Regions from separate parts of the Homo sapiens genome. Here regions 1 and 3 are each linked to region 2. Evidence: promoter capture Hi-C in human tissues and cell types (Jung and others, 2019). All regions are on one chromosome and are shown on one strand. Each heading gives the region's core, a stretch centred on a gene start or on the middle of the fragment in contact. The rest is flanking DNA. Distances are from core to core; before and after follow the strand shown.

Evidence for each region. Contacts are between HindIII fragments. The study calls those that stand out against the background at their distance.
Region 1: a fragment that was not itself captured here is called in contact with the fragment with the promoter of ZNF532 in region 2 in 1 of the 25 tissues and cell types used here (dorsolateral prefrontal cortex).
Region 3: a contact is called between a fragment that was not itself captured here and the fragment with the promoter of ZNF532 in region 2, in 1 of the 25 tissues and cell types used here (hippocampus).

The regions. Positions count from the first base shown.
Region 1 is chr18:59,129,180-59,132,484 of GRCh38, forward strand. No RefSeq gene overlaps it. Among named protein-coding and RNA genes, the nearest start is that of SEC11C, 9.1 kb to the right of the region's middle. The HindIII fragment of the contact is 3,715 bases long and covers 1-3,305 here.
Region 2 is chr18:58,863,086-58,866,383 of GRCh38, forward strand. ZNF532 (zinc finger protein 532) reads left to right here and starts at 1,792. Exons shown (of 10, transcript NM_001375912.1): 1 at 1,792-2,300; 2 at 2,385-2,494. The HindIII fragment of the contact is 28,079 bases long and covers 1-3,298 here.
Region 3 is chr18:59,349,958-59,353,068 of GRCh38, forward strand. The region is part of intron 5 of LMAN1 (lectin, mannose binding 1); the gene reads right to left. Among named protein-coding and RNA genes, the nearest start is that of LMAN1, 7.8 kb to the right of the region's middle. The HindIII fragment of the contact is 6,352 bases long and covers 1-3,111 here.

The DNA.
Region 1 (3,305 bases), core at 452-2,951, 270 kb after region 2:
ACTTTTCAATACAGTTCCTTCCACATCCCTGATGATCCAGTCAAATAAGTAGCAAACGTCCACAAATAACTGTAGACCCATGCTTTTAGCCCCCTCTCAACCCAATGTACTACTTGAAGTTTTGCCCACTGAGATGTTTTTCCTTCAGGTGTCCTTTGGAATCACCTCTATGTGGGGCTGTTAGGTGGCACAACTGTCCACTTTCAGGTGGTACCAGCATATCATGCAGACCCTATTGTAAACCAGGCTTGAGGTTTTTCTTTATCAGTTAACTGCAGATGGGAAAATTCCCAGAAGGGGACTGAAGGTATGGACTGGAAAGGACGCAATGCAGTAGTATTGAAGGAGTCTGAGCCACCTGCTTATTCAAATTATTCATTCCTTGTGGATCTGCCTAAGCTTGGTCTCTTATATACCATTTCCACTTGGTGGCAAATGCTGCTACATACATCCATCCTAATGACTAGGTGGGTCATAAAATACTCAGTACATGATAAAAAGCTTGGGGTGCATGGTCACCTGAGGTCCCACATTTGGATTTTCAGTCCCTCCAAGGACCAATGGCAATACAGAAGCTGTTTCTTAAACAGAAGAGTTATCTATAGAGGAGGGCATAGGTTTCCTCCAAAATCCTAAAAATCTGCTCTGCAATTTTCCTTTGGTAGCTGCTAGAGTTTTCATATAGCTTTCTTATTTGTCATCCACACTTTGAGTTATTATTGTATCTGTTGGATAATGAGATCCAAGTGGTACAGCAGCTTTCACAGGAGCTGGATTTGCTGCAGAGTCTTCTCTTTTTATGGTCCTTTCTTAAAACAGAGGCTTCACTTTTTATTTTCCCCTCTTAAAGCTGGCAGCCTTATGGGTCACTGGCAGCCTATGAGTCACAGATGGGTTAAAGTAACACACTCAAAGTGGTCTAGGTTGTCTCCAGATTCCAAAAAGACCTACCAACTGTTGTGCATCTTTACTTGCAGTAGTTGTTTAGAGATGTAACAACTCATCTTTCACCTCGGAAGTAACGCCTCAACATTATCCAGACCATTGAACCACCAGAAACGTCACTAAGATGGCAGATGTGAAATTTTTGTGTGTTTTTTTTCTCACGCCTTCTAGTTTGCATATTTCTTACTAAGGCATCTAGTGCACTTTCTAGTTCCAATTCATCAGCTCCAATCAGTATAATTTTATCAATGTAGTAGAAGAATGTGATGTTTTTCAGAGTGTCAAGATGATAAAGATTTCTGTAACTATATTGTAGCAGATGGCAGGAAAGTTGACATAGTCCCAAGATAAGACTGTGTGGGTGTACTACTGGCCCTGCTAGGTATAAGCAAATTGGTTCTGCTGGTTCTTACAAATTGATATGAGGGGGAAAAGCATTATTTAAGTCAACAGCTGCATACCAAGTGCCAGGGGCTGTGTTGCTCAAATACAGATCTGGAATAGCAACACAATTAGAATGACCATTTGATTAAGTTTATAATAATCCATAGCCATTCTCTAACATTTACCCATATTCTGTACAGGCCAAACAGGTGAGTTAAGTGGGAATGTGATGGATATCACAAACTCTGTATCATTTTGTCCATTAATAGTGGCTGTGATTTCTGCAATTCCCTGCCCCTCCACCCCCAGGGATGCAGTATTGCTTCTGGTTTACTATCTTGGTGAAGAGGGAACTTTCTATGGACTTCTACTTAGTCCCTCCTACCATAATGGCCCTTACCTATGGGTCAGAGAAAGAACTTGGGGATTCTGAGAGTGACAAGTATATCAATTCCAAATATACATCCAAGAGGTGAGGAAAAAACAATTGAGGGAAAGGGAGCATAGACCAGTTGGTCCCACTGTGAATCAGATTTGGGCTAAGGCTTAATCTGCCACCTGACTGCTATAAGCCTTCACTTTGACTTGTGAGCACAGTCACATCTGAGGTCTCTAGGAGTTAGTCAATACAGAGACAATGTCTGCTAATTCCCAAAATATCTGTGTAGTTCCTTTTCCCCAGTGTATAGTCACTGTTATAAATGACTACATGTTCCACTGGGAAAGCTTAGGAAAAAAGCTAAGGTATACACTACCTGACTGAGTATTAGTTATCTGAGCTGTGACAGACTGGGACTGGCAAAGCGGAAACTGCATACTTTGGTGCTGATGAGACTCCCTGGGAAGCCACCCCCTGAGGTATAAGTTACACTTGCTAGTAAGCCACTCTAAGTGGTACTGGGAAAACTTGCTGAAAAGCATGTACCCCTGGGTGTCCCACAGGCCACTGGAACTAGAAACAGAAGCCCCTTCCTCCTCTAGTGTCTTTCCAGCACCATCTACTGAGAAAGCTTAACAATATTTAAAGTTAGTCCAGCTGACAATGCACAAATGTTTCCAGTATCACAAAGCAGAATGAAGAAGGATGGATTTGGAGCTGAAAGGCAAGAAATTGATTAGACTATTTATTGTATCAGTTTTTTAAAAAATTGAGCACCTGTTACCTGCCAGGCATGGTATTTGCTGCCAGGCATGCAGAATTTAAGAGATCGAATTGATGGCAGCGGCTGCCATCACACTAGCTGTAGCAGAGAGGTGTGGCTGGGGCTGCACACCCCATGGAGCTGGTGGGAGCCCTACTTCTTCTGAATTGGGGAAGGAGCTCCCTGCCTGTTGCTGCAGCCACCCAAACTGTGGCTGGTGGTTTGGGTGGTTTGGTTCTGGTGGTTCTTATAAATTGATATGAGGGAGAAAAGCATTATTTAAGTCAACAGCTGTATACCAAGTGCCAGGGGCTGTGTTGCTCAAATACAGATCTGGAATAGCAACACACAGAGGTGCAGGACCTGGGCGTCTCTCCAGCCTGCACCCTGGGGGGCCTGGGAATCCCCCCCCCCAACCCCTGCAGGCTCAGAGGTGTCTACTCCTGCTGCCTGGCCTCTCTCCACTCCCTGTGCTGGCTCTGCTCTCAGAGTGGGCGGTTGGGGTGGAGCCCTGGGGCCATGAATGGCAGGGTTCAGGCCAGGGCCTGAAGGCTGGGGGCTGGACTGCCAGTCTTGCAGACCAGAGTAGGGACTCGTGGTGCCTCTTCCAGGCCTGGCCATAGCTCCTCATGGACCAATCAGCAAATACTTCCTCCCCTCTGAGGTTCATAAAAGCCCTGGGCTCAGCCAGAGCAGGAGAGAGGACAACCAGAGCAGGGCAGAGAATGGAGAGATGATGGGATGACCACCTCAGAGAGGAGCTATCCTCTTTGCTGAGATCTTCAGAGACATGCAGAGATGTCTGAAGAACCTGCCTGGGAGAGGAGCCATGCT
Region 2 (3,298 bases), core at 542-3,041:
CCACCTTGGCTTCAAGATCCTGGGTAGAGGCTCACGGTCTTTTCAACCATCTTTGGCGAGGCCTTGCTTCCTTCCACTCGAGTAAGTCGCGGCTTGGGGCCACGGAAAGGACTGGGTGAGAGCCCGCAATGTCGTTGGAAAAAAGCAGCCCTCCCTGCGCCCCCTCACCAGCCCCACCACCCCGCTCCACTCCCGGGGCGAAGCCGCGAGCCAGCGGCCCCGTATGGGCGAGACTTGGCAGGTCCGCGGGGCGCCTTCTCGCCGCCGCCGGACTCGGGGCTCCGCAGCGGCCGGGCGTCGGCGCCCGCCGGCCGCGGGGCTTCGCGCTGCCGCCGCCCGGTCCCGGAGCTCCCTTCCCCCACCGGCCGCCCCCTCCCCCTCGCCCGCGCTCCCTTTTGTTCGCTCGCCGCCCGGGCCGAGCCGCCGCCGCCGCCGCCGCCCGGCCCGGCGGCGAGGCCGCTCCACCGCACACGCACACACAGACCCCGGCAGCGGGAACGCAGATGACACGCCCGTAACATGGAAGCCGCCGCCGCCGCCGCTCCGACGACAGCAGCAGCAGCCACAGCAGCAGCCGCCGGCGGCGCCGCGCTGAACAAAGGTCATCCGAGCTGCGGCCCAGACGCCCGGGCTTGACCGCCGCGAAGGCCAACCCCGGGAAGGGGGTGGGTGTGCGCCTCTGGGGGTGCGGGGCGGCGGGAGGCGGCCGGGGCGAACGAGGGGCGCAGGGCAGCCGGACCCAGGGGCGCGGGTGGGCGCCGGGCAGAGGCGGGGTGCGGCCCCTCGTGCCCACTCCTGCGGGCCGGGGTGAGCGCGTGAGGCTCAGGCCCCTGGGCCTGCCCGCAGTGGCCTGTCCCACCCTGGCCTTGGGGACAGCCGGCCTTCGCGCCCCGCCAGCTGGCTTGGGGGGCCGAGGAGGAACCGCCCGGGCTAGGCCCCGCAGGTTACGAGACGGGGGCCACGTGAGCGCGGCTCTCCTACTCCCCCCGCCGGCGCCGGCCGGGCACAGATGCGTTTCCAGAGGCCTCCGTGCCCCCTCTCCCACTGGCCCTGCCTTCGCCCCCCGCCCCCTCCCCAGACAGCCCCAGTTTTCTTCCCCCGAGGTGAAGGGATTTGGACTTCTCCCCCCAGGTGCTTGAAAGAAGAGAAGGTTGGAGGAGGAGGAGGAGACTGGGGGGCTGCTGGTGGTGGTGACAGGGCTGGGAGAGAGAGGAGAGGGACGGAAGGGAGGAGGGGGCTGGGTGGGGTGGGGGTGACAGCAGAGAGGAGCCTGGTCAACAAGCCAGCACCACTGTGCTAGGAGGCCAGGCCGGCTCTGCAGCCGACGCATCCCGTGTGAGCAGACACACATAGCTCGCTTTCTTGGGGGCTCTTTGTCAGCCACCAACACAGAGAGCACACACTGACACACACGTACACAAAGATCTGAGCCAGGTTGTGGGAGGTAAGTGGGGGAAGGAGAAGGAGGGGGAAACAGTGTCTGCGGTGGGCTGTGGGGTGGAGGGGAGGGGGGATGGGCCCTGAGGGGCTCTGGGGTGCTTGCGAGGTGAGCATTTCCAAGGCTGTGTGCTCGTGGGGTGGGGGGACACACGATGACCTTCTCCTCCTCAGGAAGACCTAAGAGGGAAGAGCAAACCCCAGCGAGATCCCCCCTGTGCTGATGATTTTCAGGGACTTGTTGGCAACTCAGCGAGGGTTGCCATAGCTTTTTTATGTAGGGTGACCAGAACCGGCTGAAACTGGTTTGAGGCAGATCAGCTCCTGAACACAATGCAGTCACTGAGCTACTACAGTAGGATAGCAGCTTCCTCCCTTCATGGCAGCCAAAAGCAGAGGAGCTTGCAGGAAGGTACCATCCCTACACAGTATGTGAATGCACACTTAGACACCACACAGCACTGGTACGTGACTAATGGAGCCCTAAAAGATTCTGGGTAGAGAAGATGGAAAAAAAGGTGCAGGTTTGCAGGGTCTGAGATTACTTGGGCTTTTCCTGCCTTTTTCTTTTGCTTAAGGGATGGACAAGGAGCTGAGATTTATGACCCTTATTAGAGAAAAAAATGTGCCTTGCTAGGGTGGGGACACTTGGTTGATGCAGTCTCTCTCTCTCTTTCTCGGTGTTTATAACAAAACAAAACCAAAATGAACTGAGGGGTTTGTAATGGTAGTTTGTTTGTTGCTGGAGAATGCTACTTTGCATGCTTTTTTTCTCTTGCAGGGTATGTTCTGTCTTGTGCTTTTTCTTTTAGAAGCTACTAAAGGGTGTTGGGGATGCTTCTGACTATTATGAAGGCCAAAAGGTAACAATATCGTTCTAGGAAATGAACATAAATGCATTCCAGTGATGCTGTTAGCCATACATGCTGTCTTTTTTTTCCTTGTAGGCCTGTTGACTGGGGCTGCTTTTAACCCTTTCCTATTTGCTGAGAATGCAGCCGTGTGACAGTAACTGAACATTGGTCTAAAGTCTTTCCAAAAGGTCAAGGTTCACAAGGTGAGATACGCTGTTTTGAGCATGAATTTAAATATTTATTTGCAGATCCATTTAGACACAGACGGACCGTGGATTGCTACCCAGGAGATAAAATTGGGTTCAGAGTGGAGAAGAAATGCTCTTAATGTTATCCCAGTTTAATGGGATTAGAGTGACTTTATGATGGTATTGCGATCAAGGCGAAATCTGAATGCCTTCATTAAATCGCATGTGTCTGGGCAATTGGGAGAGTCAGGCCTGGAAGGAAGCGAGTGTGGAGAATGGTAGGCGTCAGGGCCTTGTGGAGAATGTGCTGTTTTGCATAAGACGAAAGCAGTACACATGTGGCATTTTCCCGATGATTATAAGAAAAGGAAGGGCTTCACCAAATCGAGGCAGCCTAGCCACCTTTTTAGGATTTGAGGAGTCTGAAGGTAGATTTGCCTTTTGTTCATTCATCACCTTTCTTTTACCTTGCTCTCTTGTGTTAACCTGAAAGGTTTTTCACTCCGACTCAAGTGGTGGAATGTCTTTTATTGATTTTGGGGGCTGTTGACGGTGAGTTCGCCATTGGATTCTTTGTGGCATATGTTTAATGTGGAATACTAATGCAATACCAGGGGGAAGCCGGGTAGTCTGGCTTCATCTGTGAAAAGATGCCTGTTAACTCAAAGCTGTACTGGAATGGGTGGTAGAAAATGTCTGATGCCTTTAAAGATCGCAGTTAGGTTTGAGCAGGCATTTTAATGCACCTTCCAAAACCAGAGGTTGGAGAGGAGAGGAGAGAAGGAAGGAGTGAGGAGAGTAGCAAAGTGAAGAACAAAG
Region 3 (3,111 bases), core at 102-2,601, 490 kb after region 2:
CCCTAAACAACAGTCACTGAGGTTCAGGGTGGTTGCAGGAGAAGGCCCAAGGCACCAGAGTAAGGGAACTTGAGTCATTACTTCTAGAGTCAAAATTTTGTCAGAGACTTAAGATTCAGTCACACAGGCAAAATGTTCTGGTATTCTGTCCAAATTTTCAGCAAGAGAATAAAATCTGTCAATATGAAGAGTTACTCTCTATATACTGTAGAATGGAAACATGTGAACTAAAAATTAGTTTAAAATAATTAATTTTAAAAGATCATTTAGCATTTGGTTCATATTAATATGTTTCCTGTGATTAGTAATATTCCTATTTCATTTTACATCATTTACAACTGGTCCTCCTCCACAGAGCCTTTTAAATTAGAATCAACAATCAGGAAGTTATTTGCCTTTGAGTCTTAAAAAGACTGTAGATTATTACATTCAAATTACAATACTAAAATCCTCCAATTGTTCAGTATTTTTTTCCTTGAATTCTAACAAACTGAAAATCCAGCATGAGTCTTCATTGTCTAGTTCCAATTATTTTTATTTATTTATTTATTTTTTGAGACAGGGTCTCGCTCTGTCGCCCAGGCTGGAGTGCAGTGGTGTGATCTCGGCTCACTGCAAACTCTGCCTCCAGGGTTCACGCCATTCTCCTGCCTCAGCCTCCCGAGTAGCGGAGACTACAGGCTCCCGCCACAAAGCCTGGCTAATTTTTTTGTATTTTTAGTAGAGGCGGGGTTTCACCGTGTGAGCCAGGATGGTCTTGATCTCCTGACCTCGTGATCCGCCCGCCTCGGCCTCCTAAAGTGCTAGGATTACATGTGTGAGCCACCGCGCCCGGCCCCAATTTTTTTTTAAAGGACGTAACACATTTCATTGTACTGTGAGTTAGCAGGAATGTTAGGAAGGACTGTAACTGAAAGCCTAGGTACAAACTGTCCACTGATTATTACTTCTTTATGAGATCATCAATAACCTTCCTTATTCACCTTATGGTTTCAAACCATTGTTAAAGACTACACTTGCAATATTTAAGATCTCTTGCTTTGGCTGTGTTTCCCCCACCAACAGCACTTATTGCTTTCAACCTCCTCTTACTTTGTTTTTCCCTCCAATGTGGAAACAACTGGGACAAGCTAGGGTGCAAGTACTCATGAAAATAAATACTTCTTGAGCACTTCACATTGGCACAATATTAGGAACTAGGAGAAATACAGGATATGCCTATTGTGAGAAGTTTACAATCATATTGATAAGAAGAGATATACATATAGTTAATAAGCAAATCAGTACAACATATCTCAAGGCCAAATAAGCATTAGAGAAAAAAAAATACTCTAAGAGTTTAGGAGAGACAGATCATTATGAGCTGTTTAGGAAATCTGATAGAAAAGGGATCTGAATTTGTGTGCTCAAAGCTAAGTATGACTTTAACAAGTAGAAAGAAAAGGAATTATTACCAGACTGAGATGTACAGAGAGGTGAAAACCAATAAGTAGCAGTCACGTGTCCAGCCAGTCTCTTCAAAACGTGTACCTGAAAACACTAGCTCCATGATCACTCATAGACATTAGGTGAAAAAAAATTCCATAGTTAAGTCAGTCTGGGAAATGTGAGGTCTAATAAAGGTTTATTTATCCTTTCTTTATAAAGGATCCTTCATAAAGAAATCTTTAATGTGCTAATATGCAGAGTAGTGACCAATCTCATCAATTGTGGAACCCTTTCTGGGGAGTACGTTTTGCAAGGCTATTGTTTTGGAGTGCTGCCAGGGCTCACAGCCTCACGGTGTTGGGTCACACGGACAGTCTGCACCCACCATGCTTGATGTCTGGGCTTTGCTACATGCAGGTAAGCAAGACTTACTGATGACTCTAATGAAACTGTACAGGGTGAATAATTATAGTGGAATTCAAACCCAAGCTAATTATAATACATTGGACACTTGCTCTATTCTAAGATCTCTAAATTAGCTTGGAATTAAGACTAAGCCAATACAGTTTTCCACAGAACTAACTTTCTCAGAGATTTAGACCCAGGAGTGTAAGTCTAGCTCATGATTTAGGTGAAAGAAAAATTCATACACTATTTTTTTTACTTTTAAGTATTATATAACCAGGTATTAATGGCATCTTTAAAAAGCAAAGTTTACAATGCATAGTGATCTTAGTTATCATAACTGCCAGTTAGATATCTCCACCTATATGTTATGCTAACCTCAATTTACCTACAACTAAACTCATTACCAACCCTCTGATTTCCCATTCCTCCCCCAAACAGATAAAACACAAACAAATGTGCTGCTTCTTTGCTAGTAAATAGTACCAATTAGCTGTCCAATTGGCTATATTCAGGAACTCTCCTTGACTCAACAACTGTGTTCACCCCTAACCCCAAGAAAACTGGTACTAAGAATACTGGGACCTAAGTCATCTTTCTAAATTGCAAATCTGATAATTTCACTTCCTGCTTAAAACCCTTTAAACATTTTTAAAAGCTTCTTATGGGTTAAACTACAGGAAGCTGTGCAAGGCCTGTTACTGCCCTTTCAACCTCACTGCTCACTGATCTCTTCTATCTCCCAGCCACACCAAACTACATGCCTTTCCAAAATATTTCAAGCTCTCTCAAGGGCCTATGCCTGCTTTCTGTGCTTGGAGTACACCCACTCACTCGCACACACACACACCCTCTTCCCCCAACTCCCAGGAACTTCCTGATCTCCCTGTAGGGCACAGCTCAACTCTGAGAAAATGTTCCTGCCCTTCCCCACCTCCACCTGGCAGTTACAGGATTCTAACCACAGGACCGCTTGATAGTGTCTGCAACGCAGCATTTATCACACAGCATAGGAATGATACATTTGTGTGTCCTCTGTTAGGCTATAAGCTCTCTGGGGAGAAAGTCCATCTGTCTTACTCATATTTGTATCCTGAAGGCTTGGAGATTATCCGTCTATCTATCTATCTACCTATCTATCTATCTATCTATAGATATATATATCTCTCACATGTGCTATACAGTAGGGGGCTTAAACATTTACTGACTAAATGGAAACATACCATCAGGGGTTTACAACAGATGACCACTTACACTGAGCTGTGAAGCCACCTCCGT